Linked DNA regions of Homo sapiens: regions 2 and 3 are each linked to region 1. The links are contacts of gene promoters, found by promoter capture Hi-C in human tissues and cell types (Jung and others, 2019). All regions are on one chromosome and are shown on one strand. Each heading gives the region's core, a stretch centred on a gene start or on the middle of the fragment in contact. The rest is flanking DNA. Distances are from core to core; before and after follow the strand shown.

The links. Contacts are between HindIII fragments. The study calls those that stand out against the background at their distance.
Region 2: a contact is called between the fragment with the promoter of COL7A1 here and the fragment with the promoter of NCKIPSD in region 1, in 1 of the 25 tissues and cell types used here (mesenchymal stem cells).
Region 3: a fragment that was not itself captured here is called in contact with the fragment with the promoter of NCKIPSD in region 1 in 3 of the 25 tissues and cell types used here (dorsolateral prefrontal cortex, mesenchymal stem cells and neural progenitor cells).

Annotation. Positions count from the first base shown.
Region 1 is chr3:48,683,858-48,687,460 of GRCh38, reverse strand. It overlaps NCKIPSD (NCK interacting protein with SH3 domain), which reads left to right and starts at 1,546. Exons shown (of 13, transcript NM_016453.4): 1 at 1,546-1,824. The coding sequence starts at 1,654. RefSeq lists enhancers at 1,039-1,108, 703-1,434 and silencers at 1,631-1,925, 1,319-2,038. The HindIII fragment of the contact is 9,717 bases long and covers 1-3,012 here.
Region 2 is chr3:48,593,980-48,597,582 of GRCh38, reverse strand. COL7A1 (collagen type VII alpha 1 chain) reads left to right here and starts at 2,254. Exons shown (of 119, transcript NM_000094.4): 1 at 2,254-2,315; 2 at 2,423-2,508; 3 at 3,035-3,215. The coding sequence starts at 2,424. The HindIII fragment of the contact is 15,548 bases long and covers 1-3,603 here.
Region 3 is chr3:48,763,048-48,766,650 of GRCh38, reverse strand. It overlaps PRKAR2A (protein kinase cAMP-dependent type II regulatory subunit alpha), which reads left to right. Exons shown (of 11, transcript NM_004157.4): 7 at 1,302-1,403; 8 at 1,573-1,647. Among named protein-coding and RNA genes, the nearest start is that of IP6K2, 48 kb to the right of the region's middle. RefSeq lists a silencer at 2,528-2,728. The HindIII fragment of the contact is 5,722 bases long and covers 1-3,603 here.

The sequences.
Region 1 (3,603 bases), core at 297-2,796:
GTCACCACTCCTGCCCAGCCCTAGTCCCCATTGCAATTTCACCAGTCTTATTCTTCAGGCAGTCCCAGACAGCACAGACCCCGAGATTCTGCCCTGCCCCAGGAGGGCTTCTGGGAGGAGGAAGGGCCAAGAGAGGTCTTGAACTGAAGAGCCAGACCTGGTGCAGAGAAGGCAGGGTCTGGATGTCAGTTTCTAGCAGTTCTACCCCTCACCTGAACCTCACACTAGGCCTATGTACTTTAGGCCTAAAAATAGGCAACTGGGTCAGACAGACACCCATAATCCCAACACTGGGAGGACTGCTTGAGTCCGGGAATTTGAGACTAGCCAGAGCAACATAGCAAGACCTTGTCTCTACTAAAAAAAAAAAAAAAAAAAAAAAAAAAAAAAGCTGAGTGTGGTGGTGCATGCCTGTAGTCCCAGAGACAGTAGGCTTGAGCCTGGAAGATCAAGGCTGCAATGAGCTTGATCATCCCACTGCACTCCAGCCTGGACGACAGAGCAAGACCCTGTCTCAAAAAATAAATACAGATAAAAATAGAAAACTTGCACACACTGGCCTGTACACGCCTCCTGCTTCCTGGGCTCGGGCTTCCTGTGGAGCGTAGCTGGACCATTCTCAGCCACAGTCTCTCCAGGACCCTGAGGGCCTCTTCCCTGGGTCTTCCAGGCACTCTTATTACACGGATTTCATATATCTGGAGATCTGGGCTGACTGGAAAGCTGGGTGGATCAAATAGGCTCTTAAGGCCACCGTGGTACCCCACTCCCTCTTTCAGCCCTCCTCTATGCTCTCAGAAAGGGGCATCGCAAATCTTAAGTCCTATAAAGACAATAAAACACAGCAAGATGATAGCGATTGATGGGGGTGGGAGCTTGACGGACAAATACTATAGGAGAGGGAAGGGAAAATTGTCCCAGGTAGAGGGAACAGAATATGCAAAGGCCCAATATAGAGAAAACCAGCCATAGCTGAAGAGAGAGGAGGAGTAGGGGTGGGGAGCAAAGATGGGAGGGCTTTAGACAGGGAATAGCCCCGCCTGGTTTCTGCTTTTGTGGCCCCCTTCTCCCCACACTTGCTCCCCACTGGCCACCACCGGCACTCGGTGAAGACAGGTGGTGAGGCCTAGACACACCGAGAGCCGGGCCCCGCGGGGGCTTCCAAGTGTCGGATCAGCAAGATCATCCTTTCGAGGTCGCCGTCCTTGCAATTAGTAGATGGGACCCACTGCCCCAGGGCGGTAGGGGCGCACCCGCTACGAGCGGAGCGCGCTTTCACCGGGAGGTAGGACGGGACGCAGCGCTCGGACTTAAGCGGGGAAAGGGAGCAGAGGGCTGGACGGGTGAAACTGAGGCCGGGGTGAGGAGTGAGGGTGCGGTGTCCGGGGATGAGGGGCCTGGAGCCGGGAGGGACCAGAGGAGACAGCGAGCTGTCGACCCCAGCCCCGCCGCACCTCTTGGGGCCGCGCGGGGGCGCTGCTCTCCGATGCGTGGAACGATACAGCCCGGGGCGGGGCTTCGGCGGGCGGGCGCGCGCGCGCCTGCGTAGTGTGTCACGGGGCGGGACAACCGCGGCGCGGCTCGGCGCTCCCGGCCTGGCGTTGTGGCGCCGCAGCCCTTGCCACCTTCCCTGCACCTGCCCTGCCCGGCCTCATGTACCGCGCGCTGTACGCGTTCCGCTCGGCGGAGCCCAACGCGCTGGCGTTCGCCGCGGGCGAGACCTTCCTGGTGCTAGAGCGAAGCAGCGCGCACTGGTGGCTGGCCGCGCGGGCGCGCAGTGGTGAGACGGGCTACGTGCCGCCAGCCTACCTGCGCCGCCTGCAGGTGAGTGCGCCCCTTCCCGCCCGGCCTCCGCGCCCCTGGGGCAGGACCCCTTCACAGCCCCGCGGAACCGACCCAGGGACCCCACCCTCTCCGGGACCCGAGGCCAGGACCTCTATCAGACAGGGAGTTTGAGAACCTGACCCTGAGACCCCCGGACCCACGGGGACTGAGACCCCAAGTGTCAGCATCACCCACAAAAGACCAGGCCCTTGACAGACCAACTCCCGATCGACCAAAAGCCTAACTCTGGGACTGAGACTCCTCAGGACCCCAGACCCTTCAGTATCGAGTCCGCCATCTGAATGGCGACCCTGAGCCCCACCGAATCCTGGCCAATTATTCAAATCCCTGAGACCCCAGATCCTTAATATGCCCCTTCTCTGGATTCCTAGGACCCCACAACCAACCTCCCTCCCTCCCTCCCTCCCTCCCTCCCTCCCTCCCTTCCTTCTTCCCCCAACCCCGCGCCTTGCCCCCCGTTGGAGCCACCACTGAGACCTGGACCACCTTGGACACCACCTGTTTCCCTAGCCATTCTCCAGGTCCTCAACCCCCCAACTTGGACCCTAGAGCCATAGACACCTCCATCCCCTATGTAACACCCAAGCTTTGGTACTTCAGTGTCTTTCACTAGCCTGTGTTCAGCCACCCTCTAAGCTCTTCTTAAGTCTCTACCAACCTTATTTGAACCAAGGACCCATGCCCCTGCTGACACTGTCTGCTCCACTCCCCAACCCTGACTTCTCAAACTTTCTTGCTTTGAAAATGGGTTCCATCCCTACTTGTTCCCAGCCTGGAGTGGGGACTGCTCACATTGTGATGAAGTGAGTTCTTATAGCTTCTCCTGGTCTGATCGTGGCCCCATTTCCTTCCAGTGGAAGCTGCAGTCCCAGTTCCTGTTTCCCTAAGAGTAGCCCTGCTGCGGGGGTTGGGGTGCGTATCTCCAGCTGGTCTATTCTGACCACAGGGGGAAGAAGGGCCCAGAGCTGCCGGGCCTGTGCCAGACACCCCCGCCCCGTCCTAGTCCTTATCCTTTAGGAAACATCCTGTCCCAGCCCAGTTCAGGACAGAAATAACGGGATAAATTTGGAAGTGTCATCTGGTCTTACCAGGAAGGATGGGCCCTGGGGGCCTAGGGGCTTCCTCATAGACCCTTGGCGTGATCCCATCTAGGAGTGCCAGGGGTGGGAGTGGGGGCCGTGGACACCATGGCTGCTGTGTGTCAGACCCAACCTTTTTGGGAATGGGGTCTCATTGAAGGCCTCTGAGGAAAAGTCCTGTCTCTTCCCCTACTGGGCATAGGTCAAGGGCCTGTGAGTCCCCTGCCGCCAGCCAGGACCAGTGGGGCAAGGTGTTTGGGGAGGGCAGAGAGGCTACCATCTTCTCTGTCACTGTCTGTTTCTTTCTGCGTGTCTCTTTCTGTCTGGATTGCTGCGACTCTGTGCCTCTCTGCCTGTGTCGTTCCGACTCCACATGTGTGTGTTTTTGTTTCTTCCTCCGGCTCCCCCCACACTCTGGCTTTGGCTCTGTTTCTTTCTGCGTTGTTTCCCTCTGTCTGCCTCTCCGTTCCTCTCTGAGCTCCTCTCTTTCCCCATTCCTTTCTTTCTCTCTCTCTCTGTGTGTGTGTGTGTGTGTGTGTGTGTGTGTGTGTGTGTGTCTTCATGTCTTTCTATCCCCCTGTCTCCTCTCCCTGCACTCTGGCACACCTCATACCACCTGGAGGGCTTTGCTGACCTCTGTGCCCACCTGTCTGTGCCCATCAGGGAAGCTTCTCAAACC
Region 2 (3,603 bases), core at 1,005-3,504, 91 kb after region 1:
CATATTTCTGTATCAGTCTTGGTGAGCTGTGCTGTGGCAGAACAGAGGTCATGGCCACACGAACTGGAGCCAGCTGTAGGGGACACAAAGAGGACTACATTCCCAGCAGGGCTGGGAGACGCGGAGGCACGAGTGGGTTGGAGGAGGGTAATCTTCCATAGTCCAGTGAGGAGTTTGGTGGTGTCCAGGGTACAGTGGGATGTGTGGGGCTGGGACCTGATAAAGAGGCCCTGGTTGGAAACAGATGGGGTGAGGTAGTGACTGAGGCCAGGGAAGGAAATGTTCAGGGAAAGCTTGGGAGGGAGAAGGATGTGCTCTGGGGGCTCCACCGCCCTGATGGGGTTGCAGGTAGGCACTGGCCTCGGGCTGTGCCCTAGGCTGTGTTCCTCCCAGGAGGCCAGAGCTGGGGCTTCAGAGGGCCACACTCCTGCTCGTGAGTCTCATAGAAGCTCCAGACGTGGAGTCATTCCAACCTTACTCCTACCTTCTCAACAGCCTCTCCCAGCACCCTTTGAGAGACCCTCTCACAGCAGCCTGTCCTTTCTTTTGGAGGCACCTCAATTCTGATGAGGTTTGCCTGAGCACCCACCCTCCCAGCTGGGCCTCCTGTCTCCCCTAAGACTGGCCCACGTGTGCACATATGTCTGTACCGTACTGTCCATGCCACTGGCCTGCTCTTGCCCGCCCTGGCTGCACGGGAGGAGGTGACAGTCTTAGGGGGAAGGGGCTGCCTGTGTGATAACATACCTGGTTCTCTGCAGCCCCCCACCTGGAGCACACCTTGCAGGGATGGGGGGTCCTGGGACATGGCTGAGGAGACCCTGACCTTGGAATAAGGTCATAGCACTATGCCCCAGGATAGTTTGGGGGGTCAGTAATAAGGGATAGAGCCCCAGCCTTCCTTGGGCAATAGGAAAGCAGGCAGCATGGATGGTCTTCACTGCCTCCAGCTCTGGCCACACCAGAGTCCTCGGGCTGTGGAGGAGTCCAGCCAGTGCTGTCCCCATATCTCCCTGTGGATCCCAGGGGAGGCTGTGGGGCCGGGCATATTAGAAGGGGCCCAGCAGCCTTGGTGAGTATAGATGTGCTTTCTGGGCTGCCCAGAGTTATTCAGGATTAGCAGGAAAAAAAGGGGGAGCAGGACCCAGATGGGGGCCTGCCCTTCTTAGCAGTGCCTCTCTGCCTTAGTGTCACCCATCTAATGGAGAGATATGCATATACAGAGCCCCACCTCCTTCGGACAGTGGCCCTGGCGTGGTGTGTGTTGGAGGACTGTCCACAGCCTCAGAAGCGAAGCTGGGGGAGGGTGTGAAGTCAGCCTGGGTAAGGGGACAGGAGTAAGGTAGGGGGCAGTTATGAAGCTGGAAGCTACAGGTACCATGAGGGCAGTGAGGAAAGGAGGAAGGGGCCCAAGGGGACCTCGGCCTGGTAGGGGAGATGGGTGGCAGGGACCTACAAGAAAAGTAGATGGAAGGAGAGGATGCCTGTGGGTGAGGACATGTAGGTAGGGGGACCTGGCCTGGGGCATGGAGGGCTCGATTCCTGAGAGATGAGCTGTCACTGTGGGTGGTCCCGCCCTCCACAGATGGGCGGCCCCCTCCCTGCAGGCACAGCTGGATTGCATCTGCCTGTGACATGGTAGGGGATGTGGGACACTGGGATGTATGCATAAGCATGACACAGGTTCTCTCCTCCTTCCGGCTTATCCCCTACAAAGAGGGGGTGAGTTACTTGGATCCAGGCCAAGGGGACCTTGGTTTCCCTAAGACCGGCCCAGAGTCACTCATTTGCCAGGGCTTCTTGCCTGTCAAGGAGATCCGGGTGGGGCCCAGGAGGCCCACCAGACAGATGGCTGAATCACAGGAGTGGCCGGCGGGACCCATGGCCTGAGGGCTTGTCTGGGCACCCCCACTGGATTGGGGGTGAGTCATCCCCAACTGCAGCCCCACCCCCCACGGCGCTGCTGCCTTGTGGCTCTGCAGGAACCTGTCCACTCCTCAGCCTGGTCACTGTGATTGACCTAAAGCAGCCAAGACCTGTGACCTTAGATGGAGTTAGGGGTACTCCCTCAGCATCTGCCCATGCAGAACCTTCTGGGAAATTCCCAGAAGCCACGGGGGGTCGGGGGGTTTATAGTTAAGTGCGTCATATCGTTTGTCTGGGGGAGGGGTGGGGGGGGCGGCGACCTCTCAGGGATATGGGTGAGGGCGGGTGCCTGGGTTCCCGCCTGCCGCTCCGCCCCCCGAGATCAGGGACTTTTCTCTGCTCTGCCCGAGAGACTGCAGCGGCGGCGGCGGGAGCGGGCGGACGCGCAGGCAAGACCAGGACTCGGGCTGGAGGGGCGCTGGGCTCGGACCTGCCAAGGCCACGGGGGAGCAAGGGACAGAGGCGGGGGTCCTAGCTGACGGCTTTTACTGCCTAGGATGACGCTGCGGCTTCTGGTGGCCGCGCTCTGCGCCGGGATCCTGGCAGAGGCGCCCCGAGTGCGAGCCCAGCACAGGGAGAGAGGTGGGCACCGCAAGGGAGGACCCGGCCCGGGGCACTGCACCGTGCCACCCTCCGCTCCACTCGGCCTTCATCCCCAACACCCCCCGCCCACAACCCAGCCAACTCCACGACGCCCCGCGGATTCCTCCTAATTCTGGGACTCCCCGAACCCTCCGCGATCGGTGCTGGGTTCCCTAAACCGCCTCCTATCCTGTTCCTACCCAAATTCTGGCTCCCTGGATGCGTGCGGGGTCCCCTGCCTTATGCCAATCCACGCCGGCCCCTAGAGGCTGACCTCAGTCCCAAGTCCACACCCGTGCTGGCGACTCTCCCTCCCCCGCACACCCCCAACCCTCCGCGGGAGTCTGCTCTGGGACCCACCGAGCTCAACTCCCTCCAAGGCCCTCAGGCTCAGGCCGATTCGGCCCTGGTTTGCATAAGATGAGGCCTACTCTCCCCACCATCCCAAGTCCCAGTGAGGCCACCGTGCGGGTAGGCGGGTGGTTGGCCTCCCAGAAGAGGCCCTGATCTCTCCTGCCCGCCCCAGTGACCTGCACGCGCCTTTACGCCGCTGACATTGTGTTCTTACTGGATGGCTCCTCATCCATTGGCCGCAGCAATTTCCGCGAGGTCCGCAGCTTTCTCGAAGGGCTGGTGCTGCCTTTCTCTGGAGCAGCCAGTGCACAGGGTGTGCGCTTTGCCACAGTGCAGTACAGCGATGACCCACGGTGAGTAGGGGCCCTGGGGGCTGGGGACCACGAGATCCCCACCAAGACTCCTTCCCCAGAGAGGGAGGAGACCCTGGAAACCCCAGGCCAGGTCTTTGCAGAAACAAGTTTTGGGGAACCTAGAGACCCCCTAGCCAGGACCTCCTTTGGAGACAGAGGTAAGGATTCCCTAGGTAGAACCTTCGTGCCCTGAGGCACCTCCAGGCTACTGCAAGACAGGAAGGTGCAAGACAGTGAGGCTGTGTTTTCTGATCTGGAGATGGGGAGCCCAGGAGGGGGCCCCCACGCCTGTTGGATTCTCCACGTTCTAGCCCTCTAACCCTTGCAGCCGTTCACCAGAGGTGCTCCATCTGGCCAGCATCCACTTTCCTACATCTGGACCCCTCCT
Region 3 (3,603 bases), core at 382-2,881, 79 kb before region 1:
TTCTGTAGTTTCATCAAGCACATTTCATATGCTCATATGCTGTCTTGAACTGTAGACTTTTTATTTTTATTTTATTTTTTTTTGAGACACAGTTTCAACTTATGTCACCCAGGCTGGAGTGCAGTGGCGCAATCTCAGCTCACTGCAACCTTAGCCTCCTGAGCTCAAGTGATTCTCCAGCCTCAGCCTCCCAACTAGCTGGGACTAGACAAACGCCACCATGCCCAGCTAATTTTTGTATTTTCTGTAGAGATGGGGTTTCACCATGTTGCACAGCCTGGTCTTGAACTCCTGAGCTCAAGTGATCTGTCTGACTCAGCCTCCCAGAATGCTGGGATTACAGGTGTGAGCCACTGCACCTGTCCTTGAAATGTAGACTTTTTATTCCTATGTATTTTGTTGTTGTTGTTGTTGTTGTTGATATTGTTGTTTTTGGGACATAGTGTCACTCTGCTGCCCAGGCTGGAATGCAGTGGTACAATCACAACTCACTGCAGCTTTGACCTCTCAGGCTCTGGTGAGCCTTTCACCTCAGCCACCCAAGTACAGACAAGTGCCACCATGCCCAGCTAACTTTTTTTGTGTATTTTTTCGTAGAGAGCGTGTTTCACCATGTTGCCTAGGCTGGTCTCATACTCCTGGGCTCAAGCAATTTGCCCACCTTAGCCTCCCAAAATGCTAGGAGTACAGGCAGTGAGCCACTGCATTCAGCCAACCTTCATATTTTGATATTTTATATTATCTCCCCATTAAGATTGTAAACTTTTTTAGGGTAAGAACAATCTAATTGTTCTTTTTTTAGGCAAGAACAATCTAATTGTTTTGGATTTTTTAAGTTTTTTTAAATCCTGGATTCTAAGGATTAAATGATTGTTTTATTCTCTCTTTTGGTGAGGTGTCTCTTTTTTTTTTTTTTTTTTTTTTTTGAAATGAGGGTCTCACTCTGTCACCCAGGCTGGAGTGCAGTGACATGATCTCGGCTCACTAGAGGTGTCTTTTTTGATATTGAACAGTGACAGTGAGCTCATAAATGTTTAGGTGTTTTCTGTTTTGGGTTCTATTTATGACCCATAGGTGGCACCTATTGAGTGCTAGATAGCAAGCAACAGCATGTGGGCATCTGGCTGGCTCAGGCTATAGGTCCTTTACTTCCAGTGATGACTCAAGATTGAAGTATCATTAAACACTTAATTAACACAGTAACTTACATATTCCTCTAATATTTGCTTTGGCCAGTTAATTAAACCATAGATGTTCCTGTATATAGGCATTTACTAGAATTTTCATATTCTTTCTTGTAGGACCGGGTGACTTTTAGAAGAATCATAGTGAAAAATAATGCAAAGAAGAGGAAGATGTTTGAATCATTTATTGAGTCTGTGCCCCTCCTTAAATCACTAGAGGTAAAGTGGCTTGAATAAGAATCTGTTCATGGGGATCAGGAAAAGCTTTTAAAACTATTCTGTTGTTAGGTTTTCAAATCATACTATTCTAATCCTATTTCTGTGCTGCATAGCTATTGTGACTTTCAATTAAGGTCTTTTCCTTTTATTTGTGAATTTGTTGTTTCAGGTGTCAGAACGAATGAAGATTGTGGATGTAATAGGAGAGAAGATCTATAAGGATGGAGAACGCATAATCACTCAGGTGAGTGAGGGCTTTACGCAGCTCCTTTCCTGGAAGTCACCCCTGAAGAACTAGTACATCATTTATCTCAAAAACTTCTTGCCGGACGCAGTGGCTCACGCCTGTAATCCCAACACTTCGGGAGGCTGAGGCAGGTGGATCACTTGAGGCCAGGAGTTCAAGACCAGCCTGGCCAACATGGTAAAACTCCATCTCTACTAAAAATACAAAAATTAGCTGGGTGTGGTGGCCCATGCCTGTAATCCCAGCTACTTGGGAGGCTGAGGCGGGAGAATTGCTGGAACCCAGGAGGCAAAGGTTTCAGTGAGTCGAGATTGCGCCACTGCCTCCAGCCTGGGCAACAGAGCAAGACTCCATTTCAAAAAAAAACCAAAAAACCTTCTATGTTCTCCCACTGTTGGGAGCTCTTATTACCAGGTAATAGATCATACTTCAGAGGACTATTATGTAGTCCTCTGAAGCTTATTGACGTCCGTCTTACTGACACGTGCAGATCTCTTGCTTCCTCTCACCTTTCCTTGGCTTCTAGTGTTTGTTCTTTTGATGTCATTTTCTTTTGACCTTAAGTAAGTTTCATCCATTGCTATTAGAACCTGGGGAAGGTTAAAGAGTTCTGTCCTCTAACTTTCTATATTTGACACAAAGGCATCCTTTTGGCTAATCTAACACAAATCAGAGTTCACAGTCTTCAGTGATTAACCAAATTTGTAAGATGTAAAGATTACTAAACAGTGGGCTAGATCATTGTAATGAGTACTGTCTGATAATTTTCTTTGTCCGCTGTGTTTGTATTTTTAATTAAACATAAATAGTATTGGACTTTTCCAGGTATAAGCTTATCTGCCTATGGTTCTGGCTCAAGAGCACGGAGAAGATACATGGTTGGTCTAGGTTGGGTGATATGCTTATCCTAGAACCCAGTACTGAGACTACGAGGAGGAAAGGCTCAGATTGGTCAGGTGTGGGTCCTGTGGGTGGAGTTGGCCCCACTAGAACACAAGGACTAATCAGACTTACCATAAAAGGGGAGAAAAAAGCTCCCTTGGAAGAGATAAAGGACTAACAAAAATATGATGTCTACTCTGAGTCACATCTCTAAATGTATTTGTTTTCTAGGAGCCGTTACTATTAATAATTCTTTTAATTAGAAATTGGAATATTCTATAAACATTTATTAAGATAGGTAGGACCAGATATGATAAGCACTATAATGAAGGAGAGTATGAACGACAGTGAGAACATAGAAATGGAAGTAATACATATGGTTTCATTGAGGAAATGCCATTTGAGATGGGCTTAAAAAACAAGTGCAATTTCAATGTTTGGGATCAGGGAAAGGTCCTTCAGAGCAAGAAAACAATATTAGCAAAGGCCAGTGGTGTGAGCTGTGTTTCAGAGCAGGTATCCTGGTATGGTAAGAATGTAGTGCTGAGATTCAGAAATGGGAGATGTTAACTGGCCACATTTGCTTCTGAACCTAAGGTGCTTTAAGTAACATTCAAAGGACCTTCAAGTCATCCTGAAGGTTCTAGGCCTGTCTCATACTGGGTTTTCAGGAAGTATGTCAGGAGATGTGAGAAGTCAATAGTGTTTTCTTCATGGTCTGTGCTCTTGAAGATAGAGTGCTATCTATCTTCAAGGTAGATAGGTAGTGGTACAGAATGGACATTAATTAAGATGATATTAAAAGGGGCTTATTGTAGGTCCCTTTTGTCAATGTCTCTCACTGGACCAAGGCTTCTCAAAGTGAGGTCCCAGGACCAGCAGCAATCAGCATCATCTGAGGATGTTAGAATTGTTAGGAATGCAAGTTCTGGAGCCCCCCACCAGACCTGCTGAATCAGAAACTACATTTTATGTTGTTTCATTTGTTTTGATCAGCTTTGTTACAGTGTATTTTACATACAATAAAATTACTAAGTTTAAGTGTACAAATCGGAAGAGTTTTGTAACCAT